2 separate regions of the Homo sapiens genome follow, and region 1 is linked to region 2. Evidence: promoter capture Hi-C in human tissues and cell types (Jung and others, 2019). All regions are on one chromosome and are shown on one strand. The core of a region is centred on a gene start or on the middle of the fragment in contact, and the rest is flanking DNA. Distances in the headings are between cores, read along the strand shown.

What was found. The method cuts DNA at HindIII sites, captures the fragments that hold promoters and counts their contacts. A contact is called where the count stands out against the background at its distance.
Region 1: a contact is called between a fragment that was not itself captured here and the fragment with the promoter of LGALS12 in region 2, in 1 of the 25 tissues and cell types used here (pancreas).

The regions. Positions count from the first base shown.
Region 1 is chr11:63,816,691-63,819,635 of GRCh38, reverse strand. It overlaps SPINDOC (spindlin interactor and repressor of chromatin binding), which reads right to left. Exons shown (of 6, transcript NM_138471.3): 2 at 1,502-1,831; 3 at 1,271-1,420; 4 at 984-1,109; 5 at 634-834. Among named protein-coding and RNA genes, the nearest start is that of SPINDOC, 4.7 kb to the right of the region's middle. The HindIII fragment of the contact is 4,226 bases long and covers 1-2,945 here.
Region 2 is chr11:63,504,402-63,507,333 of GRCh38, reverse strand. It overlaps LGALS12 (galectin 12), which reads right to left and starts at 1,250. Exons shown (of 9, transcript NM_033101.4): 1 at 807-1,250. The coding sequence starts at 875. The HindIII fragment of the contact is 17,008 bases long and covers 1-2,932 here.

The DNA.
Region 1 (2,945 bases), core at 237-2,736, 310 kb before region 2:
AATCCCAGCTACTCAGGAGGGTGAGGCAGGAGAATCGCTTGAACCTGGGAAGCAGAGGATGCACTGAACCGAGATCGCGCCACTGCACTCCAGCCTGGGCGACAGAGCAAGACTCTTGTCTCAAAAAATAAAAAATAAAAAAATAGGCCAGGCGTGGTGTACTTTGCGAGGCCAAGGCAGTTGGATCACCTGAGGTCAAGAGTTTGAGACCAACCTGGCCAACATGGGAAAACCCTGTCTCTACTAAAAATACAAAAATTAGCCGGGTATGGTGGCGCACGCCTGTAATCCCAGCTACTAGGGAGGGTGAGGCAGGAGAATTGCTTGAACCTGGGAGGCAGAGGTTGTAGTGAGCCGGGCTTGTGCTACTACATGCCAGCCTGGGCAACAGAGCAAGATTCCGTCTCAAAAAACAAACAAACAGAAAAAGAAAAGCTCAGCTTTCAGGCCAGCCTTCCTCATCATTCAGATCCCCTGCCCCGGCCCCGTGTACCAGGAAACCTGAGCACCACCCACCCCACCCACCCCACCCACCCCTACTGTGGGCTCTGCCATAGAGCAGCCTCTCTGAGGCCTGGCCCAGGAGCGCTGCCTGCGAGGTCCCTACTGTGCTTCCCTCTCAGGAGGGCTCACCTGGAGAGGGGCTCTCCGCCCGGGGAAGGCCTCCTTCTGCCACTTCCCTGTCTTTGGGTGAGTCCTTGCTGTCTGGGCCCCTGAGCTGGGTGTGGGAGAAGAGCTGCAAGACGAAGCCGGCGGGGAAGCTGCCGTCAGTGAAGTGTCGGACCTCGGCTGGTGCTGCGAAAGTCTCCGTGGGCGAGTCTGGCGATGGGGGCTCTGGAAGGGAGGACGGGATGGAACTGTGAGTGAAAAAGCCTCAGGAGCTGCAGGCGCCCTGCGCCCAGGCCCTGCTCCATCCTCACTGATGCGGATTTCCTCAGAGCACTGCGGCCAGAGCCCACGCCTCCCCCGGGCCTCCCCTTCACCTGGGTCAGGGTCCAGGTTTTTGGTCATAGGTCTGCCTCTTTTCTTTCTGACTGGCTCTTCCCCTGGGGGTTCCTTCCATCTCTGACCACGGGGCTTCTTATTTCCTGGCTCTGTGGCAGGGACAGCTGCAAAAAGAAAAGACCTCATACCCTTTTAAAGAGGCCATCCCCGAACCCTGCCACCCCAGGGCTCCTGAAGATACCTGCCCAGAACACAGGGCCTGTATTTCACCCTGTCCCCAAACCCCCACCTCCACCGGGGCTCACTGGCTTCTCTGTTGACTAACCAGGAAGCTCGAGGGGGCGGAGTCCCCTGGGCCGGCTCCTTTTAGGGAGGGATGGGTTATCCTCAGAGTCAAGGAGAACGACGATTTCGGCTGGCATTCTGGCAGCGTCTGGGTTGGCGTCTGGGTCTGGGTGGGCATCCTGGCCCGAGTCTGCAGGGAGCAAGAGCACAATGAGCTTCTAGTGCCCCAACAAGTCCGACTTCTCCCTTCGCCAGCCCCAGGACCAACTACCTGAGTTGGGTGGGGACGGCTGCTCAGCTCTCACGTCTTGCAAGAGGGCCACCCCTTCACTCCAGGCCTCCAGGATATTGCTCTTCTCAGAAGGGCTCAGGTCCAAGGTGTGAGGGTGCTGCTCCAAGATGTGCGAGCGAGCTGTGTCGGCCGAGGGTGCCCGGATCTCAGCGCCACACACCATGCACAGTGCCCGCCCGCTGCCTCCTGGGCTGCTGCCCACCAGGAACTCCTGCTCCCAAGACACCTGCTGCTTCGGCTCCTCACAGCCATCACTGCCTGCCTCTAGCGGGCTGGGTCTAGGCGGTGGGGTCTTCTCCTGTTGGGTCACTGCGAGGGGAGAGGGGGAGGGTGTTATCACTAAAGGTGCCCACAACCAACAACACTTAGCACGTCTCCAGACTCAGTGGTTTGAGTGGGATGGGGGAGGAGAGCATTTCTGGCCAAAGTGTTCTTCTTCCTTCCCCTGGAGCCCATGAGGCACACGCCACACTCAACACAGCCGATGTGCCCGGGATCCCACGACTCTCGCGTCTATACTTCCTCTTGATCTAGTCTTGGACCTTAGGACTAACTACACATACTTTCCCAACAGGCTGCATTCTTGCAGGTCTCCAGCCTTTGCACATCTGTCCAGACCACCCTAATTGGGCTGGGCAACATCATCCCTGCGAAGCTTTCCAGAACCCCAATCCCTGACAATAGATTTCATCCAAATCTGACTTCTACACTTTCTTGAGGATGAGGAAGGTAAATTCTTTTAATTTTTAAATTTTATTTATTTATTTTGAGACAGAGTCTCACTTTGTCACCCAGGCTGGAATGCAATGGCGTAATCTCAGCTCATTGCAGCCTTGACCTCCTGGGTTCAAGCGATCCTCCTGCTTCAGCCTCCCAAGCACCTGGGACTACAGGTGAGCGCCACCATGCCTGGCTAATAATTTTTTTTTTAAAAGATGGGGGTCTCATTTTGTCACCCAGGCTGGAGTACAGTGGTGTTATCATAGCTTACTGCTGCCTTCAACTCCTGGACTCAAGGGACCCTCCAGCCTTAGCCACCTGAGTAGCTAGGGCTACAGATAGATGCATGCTATCACACCCAGCTAATTAACAAACAAAAAAATAATTTTTAAGAGATGGGGTCTTGCTATGTTGCCCAGGCTGGTTGTGAACTCCCGGGCTCAAGCAATCCTCCTGCTTCAGCCTCCCAAAGTGCTGGGATTATAGGCATGAGCCACCATGCCCGTTCTAAAGGCCACCCCATCCCCTCAGAACTCGCCTCCCTTCTCAGTGCTCACAGAGCATTTACAGCCATGGTCCCACTCCTATTGCTGCCTGATACCTGCTCTTTGTGTACACAGACAGACCATAAGCTTTCACAGGGCATCACCCTTTCCAGTTCAGCAAAGAAGGCAGCCTTAGACCTGCATCAGCCTGGAAGCTC
Region 2 (2,932 bases), core at 1-2,500:
ACCTTTAGGAACCCAAACCACCTAGAAAAAACTGAAAACCACCAGGATGGCCCTCCAGGTGCGAGCTCTCAGCCTCTAAAGCAAGGAGCTGCCGTAACCTGGGCAGCTGCTTCAGCCCATTCCTCAGGCACCTGAGAAGCATGGGAGGGAGGCTTGGGATGCCAGCTTGGCAAGCTCAGCTGGTTGGTTCAGCAGTTGATCACTTCCCATTCCCAGGCTCCCTCCAGGCCTGTAATTAACTGAGTGGATGCAGCTCTCATGGGAGGGGAGGGCCAAGTAAGGGAAAGTGATAATTAATGCTCATTAGTAGGGGGTGTCTGCTGGGAATTCAGCCTTCTGTAAATCATTGCCTGGCTTCAGAAAACCTCTTGGGCACTGACTGAGCTGGAGGAGAAAGAGAGAAACACCCCCAACCCCTATCCCTGAGTGGAAATTCCCACCTGACCCTTCCTTCCAGGCTGGGGATGAGACTGTCCTTACTAAGTAATCAGCATTCCCCCAACAATCCTACCCCCACACCCTCATCCTCCTAGCATCCATTACAGTAGGGGCAGAGCACTGTGGCTCCAGGCTTCGCCACTTTCAAAATGCAGTGACCCTGGAAGCCTAGCAGTCATTTACACCCAAGTGGGAATTAGCAGTCAGCCACTTTACTAAGCTCAGGAGGGCCTTCCAGAACCCAGGGCAGGTGCTGGGAGAAGCAGAAAGACTGAGGTCCTTTCCACCCCACCACCCAGGAGTGTGGGCCCAGTTGGAAGGGAAGAGCCCAGAGACCGAGGAGGTTCCACATTAGAGTGACAACTCACCGGGTGGAAGACTGGTGGTTGCAGAATGAAGCTGTCAGGAATTGGGTCCAGTTTTTCTCCAGGTGACATGACAGTGGGGCAACTCCAACTGTAGATCCTCGTTCCAGGAGCCCTGCCCCCACTGGGCTGACTCATCTGCCCCAGTCAGGGTCCTAAATGCCTGGAGCAGCTCTCCCAGCTGTTAGTCTCACCTGCGACCTGCAGCGTTTTAATGCTGTCTGGAGCAGCCCTAGGAGGGCAGCGGGCGACCTCCAGGCTCCACACCAGCCCCACTCCCGGTGGTATACAGCAGAGCTCTGGCTGGGCGGGGGCTGTCAGCAGAACTCAGTGTCCAGGGGAGGAAGACTGGCATTAACCAACTAACTACCCACTCCGGGTCTGCAGCACATGGCCATTGCAGAGAGAAGCCAGAGGCTGGCTCCTGTGGGGCCAACGAGGGTTTGTGGTTTCCAACTCGAGCCCTCATTAGGTCAGAGGAAGGGGAGGTGGTACGTGTGCTTAGGTTCCAGAAACAGCCCCACCCCCAGCTCCCTGGACAGCCTTGGGTGACTTCCCATTCCTTCCTCCCTTCACCACAAAGGGTTTTATCTCTTCCCCTCATTTTCTTTTTTTTTTTTTTTTTTTGAGATGGAGTCTTGCTCTCTTGCCAGGCTGCAGCGCAGTGGCGCGATCTCAGCTCACTGCAGCCTCCGCCTCCTGGGTTCAAGCAATTCTCCTGCCTCATCCTCTCTGGGACTACAGGCATGTGCCACCACGCCCGGCTAATTTTTGTATTGTTAGTAAAGACTGAGTTTCACCATGTTGGCCAGGATGGTCTCGATATCCTGACCTCGTGATCCGCCCGCCTTGGCCTCCCAAAGTGCTGGGATTACAGGCATGAGCCACCACGCCTGGCTCTCTTCCTCTCATTTTCTTGCCCCTTCCTCTACTCTTCTTCCTTTTCCAAGTTTTACAGCCCCCTGAGGCTCCATTTCAGCATCAGCTGGAAATGCTGGGGCCCAGCTGGGGTCACAAGAAAGTAGAATGAGGGAAGGGGAAAAAGCAGAGCCCCTTAAGCTTGGAAAAGGCAGCACAAGAAGCACAGAACTGCGCAGGAGGGAGACTTGAAACTTGACTTCCTCTTCAGCCTCTCGTCTAATGTGCTGTGTGCCCTTGGGAAAGTCACTTCCTATCTCTGGGCCACCCTTTGTTCATCTGTACATGGAGAAAGTGACCATAGCAGCATGTCCCACAGCGAGGCCTGTATCTGGGGGTGGGCCCAAATATCTGCATTTTACTACAGTCCTTCCAGTTCTGGTTCAAATCCCAATAAGGCTTTCCCTTTAAAAAGCAGCACAACCTCTCAACTTTATCCTGAGTTAGGAGGTTCCAGGATCTGACCCATTGCATCAGACTTGGCAGCAGGGAATTCCTGGACCAGGACCAGGCTGGGCAAAGGCTCAAGCGCATGGGGTGCTGAGGGCAGAGTAAGCAGCTCCCTGGATGGAGGGAGAGTGCATGAAGGGTCCTGGGATAAGGTATCTTAGCCAGTGCTACCTAAGCTGTGGTCCACAAGCCACCAGCATCAGCCTCACCTGGAAACTTGTTAAAAATGCAAGTTTGGGGTCCCCACCCCAGACCAACTGAGGAGCACTCTCTGGAAGCTGGGGCCAGGAATCTGCATTTTAACAGCCCCTCCAGGTGATTCTGATGCACTTTAAAGTTTGAGAAGCATTGACTTAGGATGGAACTAGAAGGGCTTTGGGTGCGGAGCTGAGTTTGTTCAGATGTTGCCGAGTAGGTGGAGCTGGGTTACTGAAGGTGCTTATTTGGAGAAATTCAATCAGACGTGCTCAGGAAGGGTGCTCTGTATACACAGTGAGAGGAAGCTAAGGGTGGAGGGGCCAGTTTCTTGAAGAAAAGAGTCAAATTCTGAAATAGTTGAAGAGATTTATTCTGACCCAAATATGAGTGACCAATGGCCTGTGACACAGCCCCAGGAGATCCTGAGAACGTGTGCTCAAGGTTATTGAGCTAGATTTTGGTTTTATACATTTTAGGGAGACATGAGACATCAAGCAATACATGTGATATGTACATTGGTTTGGTCCAGAAAGGTGGCACAACTCGAAGAGGTGGGCTTCCAG